2 separate regions of the Homo sapiens genome follow, and region 1 is linked to region 2. The links are contacts of gene promoters, found by promoter capture Hi-C in blood cells and fetal thymus (Javierre and others, 2016). All regions are on one chromosome and are shown on one strand. Each heading gives the region's core, a stretch centred on a gene start or on the middle of the fragment in contact. The rest is flanking DNA. Distances are from core to core; before and after follow the strand shown.

Region 1 (6,383 bases), core at 3,612-6,111, 290 kb after region 2:
CGTGAACCCGGGAGGCGGAGCTTGCAGTGAGCCGAGATCGCGCCACTGCACTCCAGCCTGGGCGACAGAGCGAGACTCCGTCTCAAACAAAAAAAAAACAAACAAAAAAAAACCACACACAAAAAACAAAACAAAACAAAAAAACACAGAGGAATCAGGTAAAAGCAAGATTAAATAGAAGGTAAAAAGGGAGGCATCTTCTTAAGGTGCTAAGTCCCTGCAAAGCAACCAAGTGGGCCCCATTTCTGTACCCCTGCCTGAACCCTCCCCCGGGCTTGCTCCTAATGAAAGAAGACGGTGGACTTAAGGAACTTGGCTGCTGTACAGGATTTTAGGTTATGCACTGTACCAGGGTGCCCAGGTGAAGGGCAAGTGTAGGCTGAAATCTAGCTTGTGTACCTCTCACTCAGCTGTGTGCACTTGGGGTTATGTCCACACAGTGCAACTGCGTTTTTATATTTTGCACAAAAATGTCTAATTAGCTGGAATCTGCCATGCTGGAGAAGTAGGTCACATTCTCTCCGTTCTACAGAAGAAGAAACTGACCAAGGTTCAGAAAACTTCAGTGACCTGCACAAGTTCACGCAGCTAGGAAATGGCAGAACAGGAATTTAAACCTGTCTTTTCTTTCCAGCCTAGTGTTCTTCCACCACTCCCCACATTCTTCTCATTTCACCTAGCTTCCGCTAGGATGGCTTTGTAGAGAACAGCCCAGCGTAGGAGGCTTATGCCACAGGCAATCTCCAGAAGTTCTGTTCACTCTTTTGACTTCATATTTCCCTTTCATTCCTTCATGAAGATATTTTTTGAAGTGTGCCTACTCAAATCTCAGGAGAATAAAGACAGTAATCTATTTTCCAAAAGCTGTTAATCACCCAGAAACGAGCGCTGAGTAGAAAAAAAAATACTGGAATCTAGTTACTAAGAACAGTAGCATCTCATGTTGCTGAGGGAACACATCACAAGAAGACTCCTGCAGAGAGGCATCTCTGAGTAGAATTCCAAAAGAATGTGAGGGCTGGCTGTCAAATCCAGGACTACAAAAATAAATAGCCAGGTTAGGAGGTCCAACAGTAAACAGTATGAAGATTTAAACAGTGCAATAGCTATAAGAGAGAGGAAGTTACCCTCCATGTTAAATAGAGACTGTATTTCTGAACACTGCAATGTGGGGAAGAACTGGGAAAAGGATCAGTATTTTCAAAGAGAAAAATAAGAAAAAAAATAAGGCAGGCAGCTTCTTCTTCTTTGTCTTCTTCTTCGTCATCTTCTTCTTCTTCTTCAAAAGGTTAAACAGTGTTTTTGCCATATCTTTGTAACAGCAGCCTGTGAGAATTAGGAAATTTTTGTTTTATCTGTCCTATCCTTTTGAGAAGTCTGCCTAATCAGACCTATACTTCACGTTTCTTTTTCTTTACCCAGTAATGTAAAGATCAGGGTGCAAAACAAGCCTTAAAGAAAGGCTGCAAAACAAATCTCAAAAGAATAGTTGTAGGGTTCCAGGCTGTTGGTACAGGACTAAGACAGAGTGCTTGGAGTAGGGGCAGGGAGAAAGTGCCCAACCGCATCCCCTTCTACAAAGCCTTGAGGTTCAGTGCATCACCAGCAGCTCATCCACACACATTATCACATGGAGCAATTCCGCCATTTTCTTTCAAGGACAACTCTCAGCTGCCTTTGGAGGAAAAAGGCTTGAGAATGGAGTTACGTGGTGCCTTTATGTAGGAAGAGGGAGAGAAAAAGGGGGAAGAAACTGGGGGGAGAAGTGAAGAAAAAAATCAAAATGAACAAGAGAACCTCATCCAAAATGCATAAAAGTGAGAAAAGTTAATATTCTAAAAGCTGCTATAAGAATTCTCAGAATTCTTAGAATGAAATCATTTATGGAAAGGAAAATGTCTAAGTGAAGGAGGAGGAGAGGGACACAGAAGAATGAGACACTGAGAGCAAGGGTCAGATTAAGCCAAGGTACAAAGAGACAGCTAAACTGCCTACTTTACATTGGAGTGAACAGGCTTGGAAGTAGGAGGAGGTGAATCAGGAGAGCACGGACAGGTTAGAAGGGAAGAAGAAAATTAGGTCAAGCCATACAGCAGGTGGCTGGAGTATATGCTCATTATTTCTATTTTGAGATAGAAATACCTTTCAATCTTTCTCAAATCTTTAGTAAAATCTGCTACACACACACACACACACACACACTCACACACACACACACCAGCCACACCTTTTATGAATGCATTTTGTAGAAATCACAGCAAATTTCATGCTGGGATCAAAGCTGTACAGAGTTTACCTGGGCTAGGTAAAAATCTGTAATCTAAAGATTTCCATGGAAGCAGAAACTGGGACCATGGGAACCTAATCCTTCCAGGAACCTGCTGGGGGCATTAGACTGGGGTGTGACCCAATATCCTCTGGATCTGTTTTTTTGTTTTTGTTTTTTTTAGATGGAGTCTTGCTCTGTTGTCCAGGCTGGAGTGCAGTGGCGCAATCTCAGCTCACTGCAACCTCCGCCTCCCGGGTTCAAGTGATTCTTCTGCCTCAGCCTCCCAAGTAGCTGGGACTACAGGTGTGTGCCACCACACCCGACTAATTTTTGTATTTTTAGTAGAGATGCGGTTTCACTATATTGGCCAGGCTGGTCTTGAACTCCTGACCTCAAGTGATCCACCCGCCTCGGCCTCCCAAAGTGCTGGGATTACAGGCATGAGCCACAGCGCCTGGCCTATCCTCTGGATCTTTAGGAACGACTGACATCCAGGAGTATAAAATACTCCTCAAGGCTTCCCAATTAAAGTCCTTGGAGAAAAAAATGTACACATAAACTTGTTCCACAACTGTGATAATATCTATGCAGTACTTATGGAAAAGAAACCCAAGGGTTGCAATAATTGGTTAAATGGATTCACTAAAATTTGGATTCTTCAATTCTGATCTGCAAATCATCATGTTGAGAAAACACAACAGCTATTTTTGAAAAGATAAAAGAGGATCTTGAAGATCCTTCCTCAATTCTAAGGTCAATGAAATAAGCTGAATTTCTTGCTTTTGCTTTCTATGGGGGAGGGGAAGGGTTTCAAGGGAAGCATAGGCCAAAATTCAAGCTTCCTTAAAAAAGAAACAACCCATCCAAACCTGCCTGAAAATGCTGTTCGAATCTAGGAAGAGAAATCAAATGTTTTAAATGGTAACAATCAGATTTAGAGATGCACTGTAAGTGGAGTATGTGCATGCTCTATTGCATACTGAAATACCTTGAATGGTCAACGTGAAATTCGGGCCTTTTAATAGAAATTTTCACTATTTTAAGTCATAATATTTATGGCTACATTTTTGTATGATGTATGTTATTTAAGTCTTAGTCCTTTGTTAGAATCATTAAGACACATCAGGATGACACTTATTTAGGCAGTTGCCAGAAAAGTATGGAAGTGAAAAAGCAGAACCCACCTGTGATAACTAGTTGAAAAGGTACCACATTTGCATGAATGAGACACCAAAGGGCTGAGGTTAAAACAAAATAAAACCACTTAGCTTCAGAGAAACTGCCTGAAATAACAAAGAACATATAAACGAAGGCAGCTTATCTATTACATGCCAGACATGTAGAACATAAATGCTGAATTCTGAGTGTGCCTCAGGAAAAGTCATTCTGCAGTAGTATCTACTATATGTCAGTTGTTATATTTGGGATACCAACAAGAACAAAAAGCCCTTCAAAGTCAAGCACAGGAATGAGACATATAAATCAGTAATTAGTGTGATAAGTGCTCAAATTTGTGCTTGTCTTTCACGATAAACTTTATCATCAGATTACGTAGATACAGGAAAAACAACCCTAGTAGTATTTTTATTGGGATCACTTTATAAGTTAAGAACTGACATGATGTTGATTCTTCCTCCTTATGGTGTGTGTTTTCACTTGTTTGCATCTAATTTTGTGCCTTTCAAGAGTGTTTTACAGTTTTCTCACATAGATTTTGTGCATTATTAAGTTATGTCTGTCTATGTATTTTATTTTTTTGCTACCATAAATCTGTCTTTTAAAAAAACCATTTATTTATTTATTTTTGAGACAGGGTCTTGCTCTGTTGCCAGGCTGGGGTGCAGTGGCGTGATCTTGGCTCACTGCAACCTCCACCTCCCGGGTTAAAGAATTTTCCAGCCTCAGCCTCCTGAGTGGCTGGGACCACGGGCCTGCACCACCATGCCTGGCTAATTTTTGTATTTTTTTGTAGAGATGGGGTTTTACCATGTTGCCCAGGCTGGTCTCGAACTCCTGTGCTCAAAACGATCCACCCACCTCAGTCTCCCAAAGTGCTGGGATTACAGGCATGAGCCACTGCACCCGGCCAAAACATTTATTTATTTATTTTATTTTATTTTATTTTATTTTTGGTTAATCCCTAAATTTCTTTATTATTATTATTATACTTTAAGTTTTAGGGTACATGTGCACAATGTGCAGGTTAGTTACATATGTATACATGTGCCATGCTGGTGCGCTGCACCCACTAACTCGTCATCTAGTATTAGGTATATCTCTCAATGCTATCCCTCCCCCCTCCCCCCACCCCACAACAGTCCCCAGAGTGTGATGTTCCCCTTCCTGTGTCCATGTGTTCTCACTGTTCAATTCCCACCTATGAGTGAGAATATGCGGTGTTTGGTTTTTTGTTCTTGTGATAGTTTACTGAGAATGATGATTTCCAATTTCATCCATGTCCCTATAAAGGACATGAACTCATCATTTTTCATGGCTGCATAGTATTCCATGGTGTATATGTGCCACATTTTCTTAATCCAGTCTATCATTGTTGGACATTTGGGTTGGTTCCAAGTCTTTGCTATTGTGAATAGTGCCACAATAAACATACGTGTGCATGTGTCTTTATAGCAGCATGATTTATAGTCCTTTGGGTATATACCCAGTAATGGGATGGTTGGGTCAAATGGTATTTCTAGTTCTAGATCCCTGAGGAATCGCCACACTGACTTCCACAATGGTTGAACTAGTTTACAGTCCCACCAATAGCATAAAAGTGTTCCTGTTTCTCCACATCCTCTCCAGTACCTGTTGTTTCCTGACTTTTTAATGATCGCCATTCTAACTGGTGTGAGATGGTATCTCATTGTGGTTTTGATTTGCATTTCTCTGATGGCCAGTGATGGTGAGCATTTTTTCATGTGCAAAACATTTATTTTTAACACAGAAGGTAGAGTCCTCCCTTTCCCTTTTCCTATCCCCATTGCCATTCCTTCATGAGCCCTGATAAGTTTGGTGTATACCATTCCAGATCTGTATCTGTGCATTTACATGTATATAATACATAAACAAATAAGATCTTACTATATGTATTGTTCCTGCACCTTGAGTTTTTCTCTTTCATGGTATGTCTTGGAGATGTTAATAGATTGGCACCTGGAGATCTACTTCATTCTAAGTGCCATGGAATTACATATTGTGGATGTGCTATAATTTACTGAAGACATTCCCATGATGACATGCATGTAGGGAGTTTTGCTACTAAAAAGTGTGTTAGTCTCAAAAGGTTACATACTATCTGATTTTACATGGCATTCTGAAAAATAGGACAGAGAGATGAGGACATAGAACAGATCAGAGGTTAAAGGCTGAGGTTGGCGGGTTCATTGCAAAGGTCAGCACCAGGAATTCTTTGGGGTGTTGAGATTCTTCTGTATCCTGTTTGTAGTGGTGGTTACAAGAACCTGTGCATATTAGAAAACTCAAATATATACCTTGTTTAGATAAAGAGTGTATTCTTGAAGATGGGAGGGCTAAATGCTATCTAATATTAACATTACGCTACCAGCTTTTTTGGGTATTTGTGTTATATTATCTTTTAATCTCTATTTTTACTCTTATAATTTTTTTAGGTTTCTGCCTTTTGAATTTTTAAAAATCCAAACTAATCACCCTTTTCTTTTTATAAGTGAACTTAATCCATTATTTTGCTCACTCATATTTGGATATTTGGACTTATTTCTAGATTTTTCATTTTCATTTATACTTTTCCCTTCTCCTTCCTGCCTTCTGCTGCACTGCTCATTTTTTCTCTATCTCCTATTTCCCACCCAACCCCTTCTCAGCTGGTTAGGAAGATAGCGACTGTATTTCTGTTCTTCTAGATGTTATCTATAATTTCTTAAAATGTACAGTTAAAATTTTTAGTATCTCCACACCACTTCCAAGAATATGTTGTAACTACCCACTGAACTATACCAATTTGTTGTTCCCAGAGTTTGTTTTTGCTTTCTTTTGAAACTTTTTTTTTTTTTTTTACAATCTGTACTTGATTGTGTTTGTTTATATATTTATTAAATTATGAGTCACTAGTTTTCTTAGATCCTATAACTTC
Region 2 (6,535 bases), core at 4,024-6,523:
GTATTATGAAGCAAGAAGGAAAACATGGAGACACTGGAAATACATTTTCCTTCCAAGAAATAGTGTGGGGAAAATCTGTATCTTGCCATGTTTTCCAATGCCTTCTACTTCATTTCACTTCCTAGAAAATACAGTGCTAACAATAAAATATATTTTTGGCTTTTTGGTACCTACACACTGTTTATTTCTTAAAGCCCGTAAGTCTTCTTCTAAATGGCTTCATGGCTTGCATACTCACTCATCTTAAATCTATGCTCAAATGTCATCTTTTTGGTGAGTCTTTCCCCAGAGACTCTAAAATTGCAACACATACAAGCACACACACACATTTATCCTCCTTCTCTATGTTACTCTCCCTCGCAATGATCATCATCTAACATACAATAAATATTACTCCCTTTTTCCCCTGTGGACTAAATTATGACATATATATTATTTCTTATCTTGTTTACTATTTCATCCCACTAGACGGAAAGCCTCACAAAGGCAGGAATATTTGTCCATTTTGTTCACTGCTATATTCCCACCTCCTAGAACGATATCTGATGCCCAGCAGGCACTAAATAAATATTTGCTGAACAAAGTCAAATTGAATCCCTGAAATTAAGTTCCTCATTTGTAAAATATAGATAATCTAGACCTAGAAGTACTGTCAAGCATTGGTCTTTAATCAGAGGTGCCTTCCAAAATCATTCAGAGTAGTTTTGCACAACATACACAGCCAAAGACCACTTGCCCTGAAATTAAGATTCAAGAGGTATAGGCTATGTGTGAAAAGAGAGACTTTGAAAAAGCTCCCCAAGAGATTCCAACAATCACCCTCAGATGAGAACCAGTTATAACTAAAATTAAGAGAAAAAATAAAAGTCATATTAGATCTTTTTGCAACACTGTATACTAATTAATAAATAAACATCTGGCCCTGCATGAGTCTGCATTTCAAGTCCTATGTTTAGACATTAAATCCAACTATCCAGTAAATCCTAGATGGCCTTTTATCATTACAAACTCTCTCCCTCTCCCCCTCCCTCTTCCCCTCCCCCTCTCCCTTGTAAAAGCACTAGTCATACATTCCAGTTTAAAATCCTGGATTCATTTTTATTCAACCCTCTCAATTTTCTACCCATTACTAGTCAGCCTGCAAGTTCTGCTAATTTGCTCTTTATTTTTAAGATTACTACTACTATCACCTCCCAAGTTCAAGGCCTTAAAATCTTTATATCAAAACTTATGAAATGGCTTTCTCGTTAATTTTCCAGTTTTCAATATAACTTACATGTGGATGCAAATTAAACTTCCTTTGGTAATTTTCAATTTCCAGCTCACAAATACATTCTTCAGTACTAACTCCCTATATGTTAAGCCTTTTTAGCCCACATGAAATCCAAAGTTTATCTTAATCTTTAAAGATAATGAAATAAAAATTAACTGTTCAGTAATTATTCCCATAAATGGCATAGTCTTTAGTATACATTTGCTTCAGTTTTACTTTGTGAATATATTCTATTCTGTACGAAAGTTGGATTTTACATTTCTCTGGCAATCATGATATTTAATGCCTCAAGTCCTTCATATGTTTTTTAACCTGCATTAATTGTTCTGTGTTCTTTTTTTGTATTATTATCTTGTGTGGCAGGGCCCTAACTCTAATAACTATCAAAATGACATCCAATTGTATTCTACATACCTCTCATGATTCTATCTAGTTCTATAGTCACAAGTCTAATGTCATGCTCATGTCAATAAACAATCAAGCTTCTTCATGTGCTCCTCTAGACAGCTCTTTATATACTAACACATTTGGACACACTGAAGAAAATGACCTCAAAAACAAGGTCAAAATGCATTACAATACAAGCTATATAGAACCAAGCCAATAATCCACTTAGTCTACATTACTCAATACCAAAGCCTCTAATTCAACCAAAATAACTCAGCCAGTGTCTTGTGATTCATCACTCAGAATGTAGTTAGGCCCTTTGGAACACATTAAAATAATCATAATTCAAACAAAATGGACCAAAAAAAAAATCAAACTAATGTGAATAACCCCTAACATTTTCTGATAGCACATTCCCCAATTCAAATACTATATATAGTAAGACAATATTAACACATAAATGATATATCAAGAACCAAAACAAGGACTGAAATAGGTAGAACTGGCCTTTTACATTGATACTATATTTTTATGCGCATGAAGAGAAAAGCTGAAAGAGGATACTTACCATTAAAGCCCTGATAAGTATTCCTGCAGGCGGAGTGTGTGTAATCTATGAAGACACATTTAACAAAAAGGAATTAGTGTGATATTAGCAATAATTCAAAATTATATGCCGATCCAGTAAAAAACAAGCACAATTTTTAAAATGACATTAACCCAATTATCTGCAAAACTGAGAATAGTTAAAACAAATAATTACCAATACTCCATTCCAGAAAATGTATCTCTTTTTTCTTCACTATCTCCCCAAATGGTAGGTTTATTATCCAAATTATGGTAAACATTAGTTTACAACACCTGATACATAATAACAGCCAAAAGAGGGGATTCAGCACTGATTTGTACCAAGTAACACAAAGGCAGATAGATTAAATTATGTATCAAATAATGCAAAAGCAAAGACATCTGAGAATTGTACGTAACATGAAATTTTTGCTAAGTTAATTTCTTTTACCATTTAATTTGCTCTTTAAAGATTTCAAGATCTTGGCCGGGCACGGTGGCTCACGCCTGTAATCCCAGCACTTGGGAAGGTGAGGTGGGCGGGTCACGAGGTCAGGAGTTCGAGACCAGCCCGTCCAATATGGTGAAACCCTTTCTCTACTGGAAATATAAAAATTAGCCGGGCCTGGTGGTGCGTGCCTGTAGTCCCAGCTACTAGGGAGGCTGAGGCAGAAGAATCACTTGAATCCAGGAGGCAGAGGCTGCAGTGAGCCAAGACTGCACCACTGCACTCCAGCCTGGGCGACAGAACGAGACTCTGTCTCAAAAAAAAAAAGATTTCAAGATCTTATCTGAGACATGCATATGCATATACATATATGACTGTGTTCTATATTCAAGCAGAATGTGTCATCACTGAAAACCATATTGCCAATTTCCTCATCAAAACTAATTTAACAACTGTTAAATTCTTTAGTTAATTTTACAAATATATACTGAAAGAACAGAATTTAATATAGTGGTCATCTGGATACAACAGAATCCTGCTACACTATACAGGAATAGATTCATATATGGTGTTAGTCAAACTCCATCTTCCAAATACAGCAGTGGTATATTTGGGCAGTGAGACAGGGCGTATTTCATCACTAATATTGTTTAGAATTTCTATCACTGACACTGTTTAGAATTCTGGCATATGGCAATAACAGAAAGCAGACATACTACATTTTATTATTGTTTTTCAATTCTCCATAGAAATGGATTCCCTTATTGCCTTGGGTGGGGAGTGGAAAGAACTGTTTCTACTGCCCCACCTCCACTTTGTTAGCCTCTGCTATACCTTGGGTGTTGGCATTATCATCAAACTACAGCATGAAAATACAATAATATATTTTTTATTTTCACTCCCAACTCTGGCCACTTCAAATATTCATAGTTTTTTGTTTTGTTGTTGGTTTTTTGTTTTTTTTTTTTCAGACGAAGTTTGGCTCTTGTTGCCCAGGCTAGAGTGCAATGGCACGATCTCGGCTCACTGCAACCTTCGCCTCCCGGGTTCAAGGGATTCTTCTGCCTCCGCCTCCCAAAGTGCTGAGATTACAGGTGTGAGCCATCGTGCCCAGCCCAAATATTCATAGTTTAAAGGTATCTACATCAAAATGAGTTAAAGTCCAACCAAAACAAACAAAACCACGAGAGTGTGCTACTCTTAAGAGCTGAACTTACTATTTCAAAGTAACTGAAAAGTATCTACAAGAGGGCTATTCCAGTCCCCTTTCACAAATCTGTACCTAGATATGAAAGCTTTAATTCTTTGTTGCATGAAATGTTATGAAAAATCAAAAGCTCATCGAGTAAGACATATGCTGAGATCACACCTCATTTAAAGATCATTTTTTTGGTGGGGTTAAAAGTTTACAGCCTACTTAGTGAACTGGTTTTACTTAAGCATGCCTGGTTACTCAGGATTAAATCCAGTTTAATCACATAAGTCCTTTCCCATGTCTCCCTAATGTTGTCACTACATACCACTTTATCTTGACACCAATTCCAAGCAAGGTTTGAAAACAAAAGTGAAGACCAAATTAATATTACTTTGTGACCCTGTAAAAGTGGTTTAAAGAATTAGTATCTGAGACAACTGAAAAGTATTGCTAAAATACAGTTTATTTAATCCGTAAGTCAAACACTTACAAGGCTGTGTACAGGTCTAAATGTGAAGGACATTTGATGCTTGCTGTGCCAAAATTCTGATTAACTTAAATCCTACCTACACACGATCCAAAGAAAAGTGCTTTGGTTCACATAAATATTTCAAGTTAGGGATTAATAAGCAGGTAATTTTTGGTGATAAACACCCCAGTTTACTAACCAGGAAACATCTTGCTTTCCATTTTGCATAGATATTTATCTATACATATCACTTACAGACACCCTTTCAACTCATCTTAAACCGGGACAAACAGAAACATCACTGTGAACAAGCCTCTGAAAATTCTATCTGGCAAGAAGTAACCCGAGGCTGAGGATTAACTAAACGGACGGTCTGGGTCGCTGCCCTGTGGGGCGAATGCGAGACTAGGTGGGTGAGGCCGCACTCGCCCGTTTGCCCGAGACCGGGAAGTTGGAGACGTCGGGGCAATTTCCACTACCAGGGGCCAAGGCGAGTCTGGGGCTCCAGCCCGGAGGCTCTCGCGCTCTAGGCGCGTCCTACCGGACACCGAGTTCTCTTGTCTCCGCCGGCAGCGGGCGCCGAGCGGGCCGAATCGGGGCGCGTGGGTCCCCAAAGAGGCCGACTCCGGGCGCTGGGCCCGGGGCGGGCGGGCGGCCTCCGGGCCCGCAGAACAAAGCCCACACGGCCATCTTGAGACGGTAAACAGACCCCCTGCGTAGGCCACCCCGCCTCCTGCCAGCTGCGCCGACCAGCCAGAGGCAGCGCTTACCGTCCTCGAAGTCCATGGCAGAGGCTGAGGGCCGTCGGCCTTGGCGGCGCTAGGCTGAGCTATGGCCGGCGGCGAGCGTCCGCGACCCGCGATTCCACACGATCACTCCGCGCGACCGAGAGCGGCGCGCTACCAGCCCGGGAGCCGCAGGCCACAGCGAGGCTGGGGAGGCGGGGCCGACCGGCGCTACCAGCCCCATCGGCGCGGCCTGCTATTGGCTGACGCGGGCTGGTGGGCGGGCCCTCGCGTGGGGGGCGGGAAGCAGGTCCGCTGTCACGCTCGGAGGTGCTGACCCTCTGGAGCCGCTGACGGGGAAGGAAGGTAAAAAAGGAGCGCTAAAGATTGGCGGGGGTTGTGGGAAAGCAAGCCGAGTGTACGGGAAGGGCCGGCTGCGGCCCGCCATGTTTGAACCTGGCAAGAGCGAAAGAAGCCGGTTGGAATGCCTTCTTCCTGCCCAAACTAATAAAACCGCATGCCTACCTTTTGCTTAGTATTGGCTAGGGATGACTAATCATAACATTTGTAAGTACTTACGGGGTTTCCTCCATGGAGACACAGAAGTCTGGGACGTTTCTAGAAGCCTGTGGCAAATTTGAAAAGCAAGATACAAAATAGCGTATGGAGTCTGATTATCGCTATGTCAATAAATTTTCTTAAAGGACAAAGCACTGAAATAAAATGGAAATAATAATTCTTTTAAAAAATTTTTAAATTATTTTTATAGAGATGGGGGTTTTGCCATGTTGCCCAAGCAGGTCTCCAACTCCTGGACTCAAGCGATCCCCCCACCCCCAGCCCCGTCTCCGCCTCCCAAAGTGTTAGGATCACAGGCGTGAGCCAATGCGACCCGCCTGGAAAGAATTCTAAAACATGGCCTGCTTGGCCACCGCCCAGGATCTGCAAGCTGCGCGCCCACAAGTTTCGGCACCCATTTGGACTTTCACAATCGGAGATGGCAGTGGTGAAGGCATCAACATCAAAAGCTACCAGGCCTTGGTATTCTCATCCAGTATATGCAAGATACTGGCAACATTATCATCAAGCAATGGCTTGGATGCAAAGCCACCACAATGCCTACAGGAAGGCGGTGGAATCCTGTTTCAGTCTTCCATGGTTCTTCCTTCCTGCGCTTCTTCCCCAAAGCTCTTACGATAACCAGGCTGCGTATCCTCAGTCCTTCTATGACCATCATGTGGCCTAGCAGGACTCCCCCTGCAGTTCTTCACATTTCAGAGGGTCTGGGCAACATCCACATGGCAGCAGTAGGATCCAGGCATCCACAAGAGAAGACCAAGCCTTATCCAAGGAGGAAGAGATGGAGACCGAGTCAGATGCAGAGGTAGCATGTGACCTGAGCAATATGGAAATCACCGAAGAGCTCCGCCAGTACTTTGCAGAGACAGAGAGGCACAGAGAAGAACTACTG

The links. Contacts are between HindIII fragments. The CHiCAGO score rates a contact against its expected background, and 5 or more counts as called.
Region 1: a fragment that was not itself captured here is called in contact with the fragment with the promoter of ZNF326 in region 2 in 2 of 17 cell types (erythroblasts and naive B cells); the score reaches 5.4 in erythroblasts.

What each region holds. Positions count from the first base shown.
Region 1 is chr1:89,703,471-89,709,853 of GRCh38, reverse strand. All of the region lies in intron 2 of LRRC8C (leucine rich repeat containing 8 VRAC subunit C), which reads right to left. Among named protein-coding and RNA genes, the nearest start is that of LRRC8C, 74 kb to the right of the region's middle. The HindIII fragment of the contact is 3,503 bases long and covers 3,110-6,383 here.
Region 2 is chr1:89,993,848-90,000,382 of GRCh38, reverse strand. ZNF326 (zinc finger protein 326) reads right to left here and starts at 5,273. Exons shown (of 12, transcript NM_182976.4): 1 at 5,110-5,273; 2 at 2,229-2,273. The coding sequence starts at 5,125. It also overlaps the pseudogene GEMIN8P4. RefSeq lists enhancers at 4,558-4,607, 4,489-5,054, 5,055-5,621 and a silencer at 4,828-5,467. The HindIII fragment of the contact is 7,808 bases long and covers 3,973-6,535 here.